Linked DNA regions of Homo sapiens: region 1 is linked to region 2. The links are contacts of gene promoters, found by promoter capture Hi-C in human tissues and cell types (Jung and others, 2019). All regions are on one chromosome and are shown on one strand. Each heading gives the region's core, a stretch centred on a gene start or on the middle of the fragment in contact. The rest is flanking DNA. Distances are from core to core; before and after follow the strand shown. Region 1 has its middle 20 kb from the start of KRTAP5-7. Region 2 holds the start of KRTAP5-9 (keratin associated protein 5-9).

Region 1 (6,913 bases), core at 2,460-4,959, 41 kb before region 2:
GCAGGGCAATGTCCCCCATTATAGTGTCCCCAAGTTATAAGCTGGAGTCCCCCAGTAACAGGATAATAGGATAGTGTTCCCCAGTACAGGGCAGTGTCCCCAGTTACTCACTAGTGTCCCCTAGTAACAGGGCAGTGTCCACCCAGATACAGCCTAGTGTCCCTCAGTTACACAATAGTGTGTCCCCCAGTGGTAGGACAGTCTACTACTGAGTCCTCCTGGCATGAGTCGAGCTGAGATTAGGATAGGGTAATGACCCTTCAGTTTTGGGGAAGGGACCAGAGCTCGGCCAGTGAGAAGCTTCCAGCTCCGTCTGGCCATATCCAGGCTGCTGAGGGTCCTGGGCTCTGTCCTTAAACCTCATCACTGACATGACCCAGCAAACCTCCTCAAGAGGAAAAAGTCCCCTTGGGTCAAACACAGCTTGTGCAGTTCTCGGGGACCTCCTCCTGCCATCCTGGGGATGCTGTGGAGAATGGAGATGCACAGGGGGCTTTGTCCTCTCCTCTGCCTTTTGGAGAAAATATTTCACTCAAGGCAAACGCAGCCTGAGGGCAGCACAGGGGACCCCAAGGCTCACTGCGCATTTCTAGTCGCCCCCAAACGCGTGGGTTTTCCTCCTGTTCTCCTCGTGGGTGCCTTTGCTCATTCTCATCCTCCTGTTCTCATCCAGTCTGCCCAGTCTGACCGGCTCCCAGCAGCATCCGCCCAAAAGTTTCTCCCATGACAGCAGGAAGCAGCCTCAGACAATACATGATGGACAGGCCTGGCTGTGTTCCAATAGAACCCCGAGTCAGTCAGCCCGAGCCTCCCTCTCAGCTGGATACTGTTAATGACAGGGGTACACATTCCCCTCCCCTTTCCAATGTTTTAAAACTCTAGGACAGTGATTCTCAAACACTTTGGTCTCAAAACCCCTAAGAGCATTTGCTTATGTGGCTTTTATCTGTTGATAGTTGCTACCTGAGAAATTAAAACTGAGAAATCTAAAAATAGATTTATTTTAGGAAGTCACTAAAAATAATAAGCCCATTGCATGTTAACATGAAATAGCATATTTTTACAAAAAAATAAATTTTCTAAAAACAAAACATCTAAGTGAGAAGAGTGGCATTGTTGTACTTGTTTTGCAAATCTTTTCAGTGTCCGGTTTATGAGATGACAGCACTTTGGTTTGTTGCCAACCATTCACTTATAAAGAAACCCTTTTCCAATAATTAGCTGGGGCTGGTGCTAGAGCAATACCAGAAGTTCAGCGATGTCTGTAGATTTGTCCAAATGTATGTGAAGAGACTGTGTTTACTCAGTTTTTATGTTTGCAGTTAAATCTTCAATTTGATGAGTTATTTTATCATTGCAAAGTGGCAGTGTCAGGGTTTCCTTTATTGACTTATCCAGCAGGCATTCAGCTATATCAACTCTACATATGAAGTAAGGAGTTGAATTAAGCAGAGTAGTTAATAAAAAGCTTTTTTTTTTCATGTTTTAAAAATGTGACGTTGTCAGGCCTCTGAGCCCAAGCTAAGCCATCATGTCCTCTGTAACCTGCACGTACACATCCAGATGGCCGGTTCCTGCCTTAACTGATGACATTCCACCACAAAAGAAGTGAAAATGGCCTGTTCCTGCCTTAACTGATGACACTATCTTGTGAAATTCCTTCTCCTGGCTCATCCTGGCTCAAAAGCTCCCCTACTGAGCACCTTGTGACCTCCACTCCTGTCTGCCAGAGAACAACCCCCCTTTGACTGTAATTTTCCTTTACCTACCCAAATCTTATAAAACGGCCCCACCCCTATCTCCTTTCGCTGACTCTTTTCAGACTCAGCCCGCCTGCACCCAGGTGAAATAAACAGCCTTGTTGCTCACACAAAGCCTGTTTGGTGGTCTCTTCACACCGATGCGAGTGAAAACTGTTTTATTTCTACCCGCAGGCGGGGCCTGCCAGAGGAGGTAGGTGTGCTGGGCTCAGGGGACGTGTGGGCTGTGAGGAGGAGATGGTGACAGGAAGCTGGAAGGAAAGGGGGTGGCTTTGGAGGCCAGGCCGAAGGGGCCCTCAGGTCTGCTTGTAGGGTGGGATAGCCTTGAGGAGGGAGTCATGGCAATGCACAGCCAGGCTGCCAATTTTGAATTAAGAAATTCTTGGAAATCTAGCTGCCTGTTACTGTTGACATCCAGTCTTTTCGTCATGCAGTCAAGGACACTGCGGTCCTTCTGCTTCTTTGTGACGGCAGCCTCTTCTGTGTTCATGAAGCTTAGGAACTCCGTCTTGGAGAGAGCAGTTGTAACCATCCTCTCCAGGATCCTTCTGGAAAACAGCAATCAGGGACTCAATGCACCACTCAGTCTCTGCAGGGCTGGAGATTTTTGCCAGGTTGTAGCTGAGTGAGGCATGGGAGGCTGTACTTGGGAGTGGTGTGGAGACCTCTGGTAAAAAGCTTTTGAAAAGGATGATTCTATTCCATTAGGATTGGCTTATATGAGGGGAAAAATAGGATTGTATATAGTTAAAGAAAAAACAATTCATTGGCCCATGTCAGATCTAACAAATCAAAACACATGGAAGCTGTGGCGTCCTAATCAGGGAAAAGGAGCCAGGGTGGCAGGACCAAGGGAAAGCAAAAAGAGAAAGCAGATAAGCTACAAGTCTGCATTTCTTCACAGTCCAGCACACACAGCCCTCCTGTGCATATAGCTCACAATCTTCCCATGCCCAGGTATCACCAGACCCTCAGCTGATAGAAAAATGCAAGTTAGCTCACTGCAACCTTGGCATTGTAGGTATTGTATGCAGCCCTCTTCAGCACATGGCCCAGGAACCATCCTGTAAAATCCCCTGCAAGCCTTTGTCTCCTTGCAGTCAGCTCCTCTTCTCCTGGCCTGCCCATTGCCTTCTTGCAATGTACTTCCTTCCTTTCTTTAATAAATCTGCCTTTTTTTAAAACCTACAAGTTTCTTGGTAAACTCTTTTACCCCTGTGACACCAGCCTCAGATAGTCGCCATCACCCACCATAGAAGCTACTCCTGGAGAGCTGATTATTTTTAATTTGCAGATAATTTATTCGTGTATTTTTCAAATACGTATTGCGACTCCTCTTCTGGTTCTGATGGAACAGCTCATATTTGAGCTACAGAATCACTGAGAACAAGTAGGAAAGCCAGAAAAAATTAACACAAAACAGCAGTTGAAAGCACTAGAGAGAAACCCAGGTGTCCAGGACAGGAGGTGCCTGGATCCTGGTGAGAAGGGAAATGAATGCATCAGGTGCCAGCGCTCCACTCTCCTCCCGTGGGGCCTCTGCCCATTCGTTAGCGACAGAGAGAACAAGAGCACAAGCAGAAAGCAGCTGAGGCATTGGCAGTTCCTTCCGAAAATCAGACTTTAGGGTGACAAAGGCAGCCAGAGCTTGCAGGGCAAAGCTTCCAGGGAAAAGAAGAGCTCAGAGAAGTGAGTCCAGTGTGCAGCAGCTCCTCTTCCCTTGAAGATTATGAAACTGCCTGGGGAAAGAGGACAAGGAGCTAAGCAAAAAGCATCCATGAAGAGCCTTTAAAGCAAAACAGAGATTATGGAGGTTTTGTAGCTCTGGAAAATAAATATTTAATTTTAGGATTAATAAGAAAGGGCTTGGTAAAAACTTAAGGCTTTCTATTGAAACCCCTCAAGACTATATACTGGGAGAAGTACAGGCCAGAAATAGAGACTCCTTCACAAAGAATAAAGCCTGGCCTCTTATCTTACTGCCTCACTGGATCAATGTGATCTGCTGCTTGTCTAACTGTTTCGCAGAAGGAAAACAAATGGTCTCTGCAAGAAAGTAACATCACTCAAAACCTTTCTCAGTTTTTTATACTCTTTATCTGGTATTCAATAAAAGATCACTAGGAACTCTATAAAAATATACTTAAAATGTAATATAAATCATAATACATACAAAGCTATAAAAATATATTCAAAATATCAAACCCAACATAAGCAGAAGAAGAAAAAAATCCAGATAAGAACAGAAATCAGTGAAATTAGAGACAAAAAATAGAGAAAATAAATGAGACAAAAATCTAGTTCTTTAAAAAAAATCAGTAAAATTAACAAACCTCTTGCTAGACCAACAAAGAAAAAAAAGAGAGGATACAAGGATACAAACTATAAGCTTCAGGAATGGATACCAAGTTTGGGGATATCACTACAGACCCCACAGACATGAACCGGATAATGAGCAAACGGTGCAAGCAACTCTACACATAGAAATTCAACAGCTTATGTGAAGCAGACCAACTCCTCAAAAAGCACAAACTACCAACATTCAGCCAGGACAAAATAGATAATTTGGATAGCTCTATAATTATTAGGGGAATTGAATGTGTAGTTTTAAAATGCCAAAAGAAAGTTGGAATTTTAAATTTTCAGATGCAGAGAATTACCAAATTTTTAAAGACTGAACACCAATTCTACATAATCTCTGGAAAATAGTGGAGAAGAGAACCCTTCCAAATTCATTTTAAGGGGCCAGTATTACCCTGATAGCAAAACCAGACAACGACAATACAAAAAAAGAAATAACCAATGCCCCTCATGAACATAGACACAAAATCTTCAACAAAAGAAAGCAAATAGAATCCAGCAATATATTAAAGAATTACAAACCATGACCAAGTGGAGTTTATTCCAAGCATGTAAGACTAGCTCCACATTTGGAAGTAAATCAATGTGATCCACTGTGCTAACAGGCTGTAGAAGAAAACTCACACAATTGCATCAATTGGGACACAAAGAAAGCATTTGGAAATTTTTACCACCTGTTCATAATTTTTAAAAAACTCAGCAAACTAGGATTAGAGTGTCACTTCATCATCTACAAAAAACCTATAGCCAATTTTAGGCTTAATGGTGATAACTGAATGTTTTCCCCTAACATTTGGAGCAATTACAAGTGTCCACTCTCACCACTCTTCAACATAATGAAGTTCTAGCCAGGGCAATAAGGCAAGAGAACTAGAAGATATACAGATGAGAAATGAAGAAATATTTGCACACACCATAGTAGTCTATGTATAAAATCTCAAGGAATCTACAACAAAAACCCAAGAACTAATAACAGTGAGTTCAGCAAGGTCTGAGGATTTAGATCGACACACAAACATCAATCATTTCTCAACCTTACATCTGATTAGGTGTGAATATCAAAAATATATAAGGAATTCAACCAACTTAACAGCAAGAAAACAATTCAATTAAAAATGAGCAAAGGATCTGAACAGTTCTCAAATGAAGAGATATGAATAGCCAACAGATATATGAAAAATGCTCAACATCTCTAAGAATCAGGAAAATGCAAATTAAAGCCACAATGAGATATAACCTCACACCTGTTGGAATCACTGTTATCAAAAAGACAAAAGATAACAAGTGTTGATGAAGATGTAGATAAAAAGGGAACACTTGTACACTGTTAATGGGAATGTAAATTAGTACAGCTGTTAAAAAAATAGTATGGGGGTTCCTCAAAAACTAAAAATAGAATTACCATATTATCTGGCAATTCCACTTCTGGGTATATATCCAAAGGAACTGACATTGATTTGCTGAAGAGATATATTCACTCCCACATTTATTTCAGCATTATTCACAATAGCGAAGATATGGAAGCAAACTAACTGTCTATCAATGGATGAATGGGTAGAGAAAATGTGTATATACACAATGGAATACTATACAGCCTTTAAAAGGAAGGAATTTTTGTCATTCATGACAATGTGGATATAACTAGTGGGGCATTATGCTAAGTGAAAGAAGACAGGCACAGGAAGACAAATATTGTATGACCTCACTTATATCTGGAATCTTAAAAAGCTGGTCTCATAGAAAAAGTATAAAGGTGGTTACCAGGGGCTATGGGTAGGTGGGGAGGAGCAGGGATGGGGCCAGCAGGAGATGTTGACAGAAGGGCATGAAGTTTCAGTTAGACTGGAGGAATACGTTTTAGTGACCTATTGTACTTCATGGTAACCATGGTTTGTTCTCCTTGGGAAGAGTGGGGACGGGTCCCTGAAGCACCAAGTCACTGAAACTTCAATTTATTGTAAGGACAAATTCAAAAGTTGGAAATCAGAGATGAACCAATGTGGATCTTCCAGTGTTGACTCAATATGGGGCAAACATTTTCCCAAGAAAGAGATAGAGGGGAGAAAGCCAGAGTGGAAGGATTACCCCGAGGGCTCTAGGCACAGGGGTGTCCTGGGGATTGTGAGAATTAAAATGTAAACTCCTCACCTAGGTGACAACGGCACGTGGGTGCGAAATTTCAGGCATGATTTTTTTTCCCATCCAGCTCCCAGACTGAGAGAGACTCATTTTAATGCCCTCTGCTGTTACCAACATACGGAACCTCTCGAGGCAACTCTTTCATGGAGTGGGAAGCCGTTCGATGTCTCAGCTTTATGCTGAGATTCAATTGATTTAGTCTTCACCATGAAGTTCTTAAATCCAAGGCCCCGAAGTTCCTAGAACTACCAGATCCCTCAGAGTATTCACCCTGGCTTCATGCTTCCTAATCTCGTGGAATTTCTCTAATGCTACAGGAAACACAGCCATGCACTTAAACAGATGTCTGTTTTTACCAAGAATTTTCAATCATAGCCAGAAACATACCGGGTTCACTGTTTTTCCAGAAGTGGATGTCTACCTTAGAGTTTTCAGGAGGCTTCAAAACATGGCAACCTGAAGTCCCTAGCCTCCAGTAGAAAAATTCTTTCCTTACATTTATGACAGTTTTGCCTTATGTGTTGTGAGGAGCAGTCAAGTTCCGGAGACAGAAATCCGGAAGCACACACTGTCAGGGTCCCTGTTCCTTCCCCTAGGTCGTATCCATGAACCATCCCTTCACTGCTGCCTTGGGAGAGGGGAAGGTGTTCGGG
Region 2 (6,733 bases), core at 1,838-4,337:
AGAGAAGAGGTTGTGAGACGTTTGTTATCGGACTTAAAGTCTGTGTGGATGTTAATGCCAGAGAGGTAGAATGAGGCATGTCTGACCCCCACTGCCCATCATAGTGTCTCAGGTTAAATTTTAAAACAGCCCTGGCTGAGGAGGAAGTCCATTCAGATGGTCGGGGAGGAGGTCTTAGAATGTTATGTTTGGTTAACCGGGAAACCTTGGAAGCTGAGTTCCTGGCTACGGGGGGATGGGAAGCTGGACTTGCGCCCTTCTCCTACTCCCTGGCCAGCCATGACCCAGCTCCCTCCCCTCAGGGAAAACAGAAACCAATTCTGTGGAGACTGCACTGAGGAGATCAGTGTACCCCTGACATTGCCCCCTCCTTCTTGATAGGAGATCCACCACGGAGAGGCCCTGGCCATTCTACGGAAGAGGCGCAAGGAAGTCTTCTGAGTCCGCTGCTTCACCTTTTGACATCAGAGGGCCAAAAGCTCCACCCTCAGATCAGGCTAACACCTCTGGTTTTTGCACATAGAGAGGGGGTGAAGCTGGATTGCGCATATGCCTGGTTTTGGGTCTGCAGTTGGTTCCTGCTGGTGGGTTCGTGGTCTCGCTGACTTCAAGAATGCACCCATGGACTTTCACGGACCTTCGCAGTGAGTGTTACAGCTCTTAAAGATGGCACAGACCCAAAGAGTCAGTGGCAGCAAGGTTTATTGTTTATTCGCGAAAGGACAAAGCTTCCACAGCGTGGAAGTAGACCCGAGTGGGTTGCCGCTGCTGGCTGTGTGGCCAGCTTTTATTCCCCTATTGGCCCCGCCCATGTTCCGTTTCTGTCCTATCAGAGTGCCTTTTTTTCAATCCTCCCTGCGATTGGCTACTTTCAGAATCCTGTGCAGATTGGTGTGTTTTACAATCCTCTTGCAAGACAGGAAAGTTCCTGATTGGTGCATTTTACAATCCTCTTGTAAGACAGAAAAGTTCCCCAAGTCCCCACGGGACCCAAGAAGTCCAGCTGGCCTCATGTCTCAGTTTCTCCTCTTATCAATATTCATGTCCCTCCCACAGCTTATTGAATATGCATATTCAGCCACCCCCACTCAGTGTAGATCTCTGCTTTATTCTTCCCTCCCTCCAAGTGTCTGTTTCCAGCTTCCTACCAGAGGCTGCGCCTCCCAACCAGTCAGAACAGCCACACTCAGCCCGCAGCACTTTATGAGAAGTAAAGCGCTCCTTTCCAAATTGACGACCTCGTCCTTCTTCAGTTAACACCTCCCTCTCTCAATGACGATGATGGAGCATGTCCAGGTGTTGGTGACACAGCTACATGGCTGCGTGTGGGATAAAGTCGCTGCCCCTTCAGAACTCACACCCCCCTGGAGTGGGACACACACCTCTAAGAACAAACAAGGATGAGAGCAGAGCCAGCTTGGCATCGTGGGAATCAATAAATGAAACAGAAAGTGCAAGGTGGTGGGGGTAGCTATCTCGGGACGGGGTGTCAGAGGTGGATCTGAGTTGGGCAGACAGGAGGGACGCAGTCCAGGGCGGTCCTGGGTGAGTCTGTTCCATGTAAGGAACTGCCAGCACACAGGTCGTAAGGAGGAGTGCGGTGTGGCCCCGGCACCAATCCAGGGCTGGATGAAGAATGATTGAGGCAGTCTGAAGATGACACCAAGTCATTCTCCTCCCACGGAGAGGTGGACTTTCTCTTCTCTCTGCAATCTGGGCTGGCCTCAGTGACTTGAGGAGGGAGAAATACTCTAGGATTCCTAGGCTGGGTCATAAGGCACCTTCTAGCCTCTGCTCGAGTGACCTCCTAGGAAGTACAGCTGCCCTGAGCCCACCATGCTGTGAGGAAGCCCAAGCCAGCCGTGGGAAGAGGCCGTGAGGTGGGGGAGGGGAGGGAGATCTGTCCGGCCTCACCTGTTGTAGCCATCCCATAGGTGTGTGAACACAGCATCTTGGACAAGCCAGCCCCAGCTGACATAATTTACAGAAAAACCAAGGAACCCTGCAGACAGCCGGAACTGAGGTCCCAAAATACAGCCCAGCCAAGCCATGCTGCCATCGTTAGCCATTGGTACCTTCCCAATTGAGACCCCACAAATCATGCGGCCTGTGCCACCATCCAGTGCCGGATCTGAACTACTGATCCACTGAGCTTTGGGCTGATTGGTTCTGCAACGATGGGTGGCCAAGGCCACGGTCAAATCCAGCTGGAGAGGTGGATGGGGCCAGTGTCAGGGGTTTGGATTTCACCCCAAGTCAGCTGAGGCACACTGGAATGTCGTAAGCCTGCACATCCACTCATCACACATTTTAACCGCATCTGAGTGTGGACCGTACCGATGGGTTCCTGCACCTGCAGCCTCCACACCATTGCTGGTGCCCTGCCTCCTAGCTGGAGTATCCTTCCTGTCTCTTGGCTGCTCTTTGTACCCATCATGGTCCCCCTACCACCCTCCAAGTTCTGCTCCAAGCTTTGTTTTCCTCCAAGAGAAGAACCTGTCCAGACAATAGTTTCAAAGCAGCGGGAAGCTCTGCTCACGTGTCCCCAAGGACCATGCTGTGTGAAATTCCCTTCTGTAATCACAGAGCCCATTGCCCTGGCCTATTCCTGGTCCAGGAATAGGGAGGAGGTAGACAGAGGATGCCTCCTTCCCCACTGCTGAGAACCCTGCCATCCTCAGCCACAGTTGCCACAGAGAAGATACCACATCCCTGGGGGAATCAGCAGGAATCAGGTAGAGAGTGGCACTGCTCTGGGGAGGGAGGGCGTCTCACAGCATCAAACGTCAAAAACCCACAACATTGACCCAGTCCTGCCAAGACGGAACCCTGCATGAGCATGGGGGATGGGGAGTTGGGGTGTTGCAAAAGACGCAATACATGAATGATCTCAGGTAATTCTCAGGCAACCCCCGGAGGCTGGTGTTGCTAGCACCCCTCTGCAGGAGAAGAAGCTGGGGCTCGGGAGCTGACTGGATCTGCTCAAAGGCCCAGGAAGAATAAGAGTTAGGAACTGGGACAGACCTTGAGGAAGCTGCACTTCCTCCTGAGGTGAGCCAGCGTTGGAGCTGTTTTTCCTTTCAGTATGAATTCCACAAGGAAATCATCTCAGGAGGAAGGGCTCATACTTGGATCCAGAAAATATCAACATAGCCAAAGAAAAACAATCAAGACATACCTCCAGGAGCTGTGTAACAGCAACCGGAAAGAGAAACAATGGTGTGTTCCTATGTGGGATATAAAGAGCCGGGGCTCAGGGGGCTCCACACCTGCACCTCCTTCTCACCTGCTCCTCTACCTGCTCCACCCTCAATCCACCAGAACCATGGGCTGCTGTGGCTGCTCCGGAGGCTGTGGCTCCAGCTGTGGAGGCTGTGACTCCAGCTGTGGGAGCTGTGGCTCTGGCTGCAGGGGCTGTGGCCCCAGCTGCTGTGCACCCGTCTACTGCTGCAAGCCCGTGTGCTGCTGTGTTCCAGCCTGTTCCTGCTCTAGCTGTGGCAAGCGGGGCTGTGGCTCCTGTGGGGGCTCCAAGGGAGGCTGTGGTTCTTGTGGCTGCTCCCAGTGCAGTTGCTGCAAGCCCTGCTGTTGCTCTTCAGGCTGTGGGTCATCCTGCTGCCAGTGCAGCTGCTGCAAGCCCTACTGCTCCCAGTGCAGCTGCTGTAAGCCCTGTTGCTCCTCCTCGGGTCGTGGGTCATCCTGCTGCCAATCCAGCTGCTGCAAGCCCTGCTGCTCATCCTCAGGCTGTGGGTCATCCTGCTGCCAGTCCAGCTGCTGCAAGCCCTGCTGCTCCCAGTCCAGATGCTGTGTCCCTGTGTGCTACCAGTGCAAGATCTGAGGCTCTAGTGGGAAACCTCAGGTAGCTCCTGAAGATCTGTGCTTTCCAACAAGTGACTACCCTTGAAGCACATCCCCTTCTGGATCTGAAAAGAGCCCTTGGCTCAGGGCGTCTTTTTCCAGCCCCTGAGGAAATGGAATGAACCACTCCCTGCCCATTCCCTATAAGAATATCCCAAGACCCAGGCAATTTTGCCCCTCTTTCCCACATGCCCCCATATGTCTGAGCCAAACTGCACTGGGGGCTGCCCTCATGCCAAGCAAGAGCCTGGAATTCCCCTTCTTGATAATTCCATGGGAGACAGCAAACCCTTCTTTCCTTTGCCTGCCAGGAGCTTCACGACATTTGCAGATGGATGTCCTGCAACCCAAATGATCACATGTATCTATGGAAATCCAAAATGCATCTGGGTGCAGCACTAAATAAATTCTCCATCCCTCAGCCTTGGTCTCACTGACTCTTTTCTTCCAGCCTCTGTCTCATTGGCAAACTGGCCACATGTCCTTCCCCTCCTCCCTGATAGCTTATTGCTCCCACTGCTGTAACAGTGTGCCAGGCCCAGCTCCCATTCCAGAAACAGTTGTTGAACTGATTAATGAAGGAACCACTAGCAGTATGTATGAATGAATGAAGACGAGGAATGAATGAGTGAATGAGTGAGTATCTCTCATTAGTACACAGGGAGTCCCAGCTGTATCTCAGTGGGATTCAGTCTGTCTTGGTTGGAATTTGGACTCCTACTTCTTCCCCATGGGAGGATATGTTTGGGAGAGAAGGAGAACTTTGCCCTCAGTGCCTAGGAAGGGATGTAATGGGTGCTCTCTGGGTCCAGCCAGTCCCCAGTTTGTGGGTCAAGCCAGGAGATGGGGAAGCGAGACTAGAATGAGCTGTGTCCCTGAGATGCTCTGTAGGACAACACTGGAAACTGTGCTGCTTCAAGGATCCAAGACGGTGTGGCTGAACACAGGCTGAAGTGCACCCTCCATCTCTGGGCTCAGAGTGAGGAGGAATCCAAGTGTCCACAGGCTTCCCAGCTTTGGTTTGGCACAGGGAGGAACAGAAGGGACTTTTCTCAGCCTGATAAAGGCCATCTACCCACAGTGAACACGGTGCTTAACTATGAAAACCTGGATGTTTTCCCCTAGGATCAGGAACAGGAAAAGAATGTCCACACCCACCACTTCTATGCAACATTTCACTGAAGCTATAGCCAGAATAACATAACAGGAAAAGAAAATAAAGCCATCCAGGTAAGAAAAAAGGAAGCAAAACTATCTCTATTCACAGAAAACCTCATCTTGTATACAGAAGATGCTGAGGGACACACACACACACACACACACACACACACACACAACTATTAGAGCCAATAACCGAGCTCAGCAGAGTGCAGAACACAAGGACTATACACAATAGTCAGCTGTGTTTCTTTACAACAGCAAAAAGCAAGCAAAAAGGTTGTAAGGAAACAATAAAATTCCTGGGAACAAATGCAACCAAAAAAGTACAAGACTTGGACACTTAACACTACAAAACACCATTGGAAGAAGTTAAGGAGGACCAAAGTAATGGGGGAAAAAATCCTATGTTCATGTATTGGAAGACCTAATATTGTGAAGATTGAAACACTCCAAAAAAAAATTGTTCTACCAATTTAATGCAATTCCGATCAACATCTCAGATTTCTTTTTTCAAAAATTGACAAGTTGATCCTAAAATTTATGTGGACATTCAAGGGACCCTAAATAGCTAAAACAATCTTGAAAAAGAAAAGCAAAGTTTGAGGACTCAGGTTTTCCAATTTCTAAATGGGCTGCAAAGCTACAGTCATCAAGGCAGCATGGCTCTTGCATAAGGATAGAAAGATGGATCAATGGGGTAGGTTTGAGACTCTTGAAATAAAGCCTCACAGTTGTGGTCAATGTATTTTCACAGGTACTATACAATTCCATGGGAAAAGAGGAATGTTTTCAACAAACAATGCTGCTAAGACAACTGGATGTCCACATGCAAAAGAGTGAATTTGAATCTTGACCTCATACCATATACCAAACAAACAAAAAAAAAATAGAAAAAATAGATCAATGACCTAATTGTAAAAGCCAAAACTAGAGGATTACTAGAAGCAAAACAGGTTAAGTTTTCATGACCTTGGAGTATGAAATGGTTCTTAGATAATGACACCAAAACCACAGGGAAAAACTAGATTAACTAACTACATCAAAACGAATAGTTTTTGTGCTTCTGAGGGCACTATGAAGAAAATGAAGATACACCAACAGAGTGGAAGAAACTACTTTGAAATCATATATTTGATAAGAACTTGCATCTAGACATATAAAGAATTCTTACTACTCAAACACACAATCCAATTAAAGACCCAGCAGAGGATTTAAATAGGCATTTTCCAAAGAAGATATACAAATGGCTAATAAGCACATGAAAAGGAGCTCAACATTGTTAGACATCAGGGAAAATCAGGGAAATGCAAATCAAAACCACAATAAGATAGCAGTTCACATCCTCTGGGATGGCTATTATCAAAAAGACAATAAGAAGCACTGATGAGAATGTGGAGAAATGGGAGCCCTTGTGCATTGGATGAAAATAAAAAAATCATGCCACTACTTTGAAAAATAGTTCCTCAAATGTTCCATGTAGAGTTACCATATGACTCAGCAATTCCACTCTTAGGTAACTACTGAAGGGAACTGAAATGTATATCACATAAAAACTCATATGATGATATTCATAGCAGCCTTATTCTCATTTGCCAACAAGTGGAACCATCTAAATGTCCATGAACTGATGAGTCGGTAAACAAAATGTGGTATAGTCATACATGGACATATTCATATTCTGGATGTTATCCCCATATCATTTTTAAATTTTAGTGTT

The links. The method cuts DNA at HindIII sites, captures the fragments that hold promoters and counts their contacts. A contact is called where the count stands out against the background at its distance.
Region 1: a contact is called between a fragment that was not itself captured here and the fragment with the promoter of KRTAP5-9 in region 2, in 3 of the 25 tissues and cell types used here (dorsolateral prefrontal cortex, mesendoderm cells and thymus).

Annotation. Positions count from the first base shown.
Region 1 is chr11:71,504,005-71,510,917 of GRCh38, forward strand. It overlaps the pseudogene S100A11P3. Among named protein-coding and RNA genes, the nearest start is that of KRTAP5-7, 20 kb to the right of the region's middle. RefSeq lists an enhancer at 1,367-1,957. The HindIII fragment of the contact is 5,651 bases long and covers 885-6,535 here.
Region 2 is chr11:71,545,333-71,552,065 of GRCh38, forward strand. KRTAP5-9 (keratin associated protein 5-9) reads left to right here and starts at 3,088. Exons shown (of 1, transcript NM_005553.4): 1 at 3,088-4,276. The coding sequence starts at 3,326. The coding sequence ends at 3,835. RefSeq lists enhancers at 2,961-3,506, 3,507-4,051, 3,594-3,653, 5,052-5,101. The HindIII fragment of the contact is 7,685 bases long and covers 1,600-6,733 here.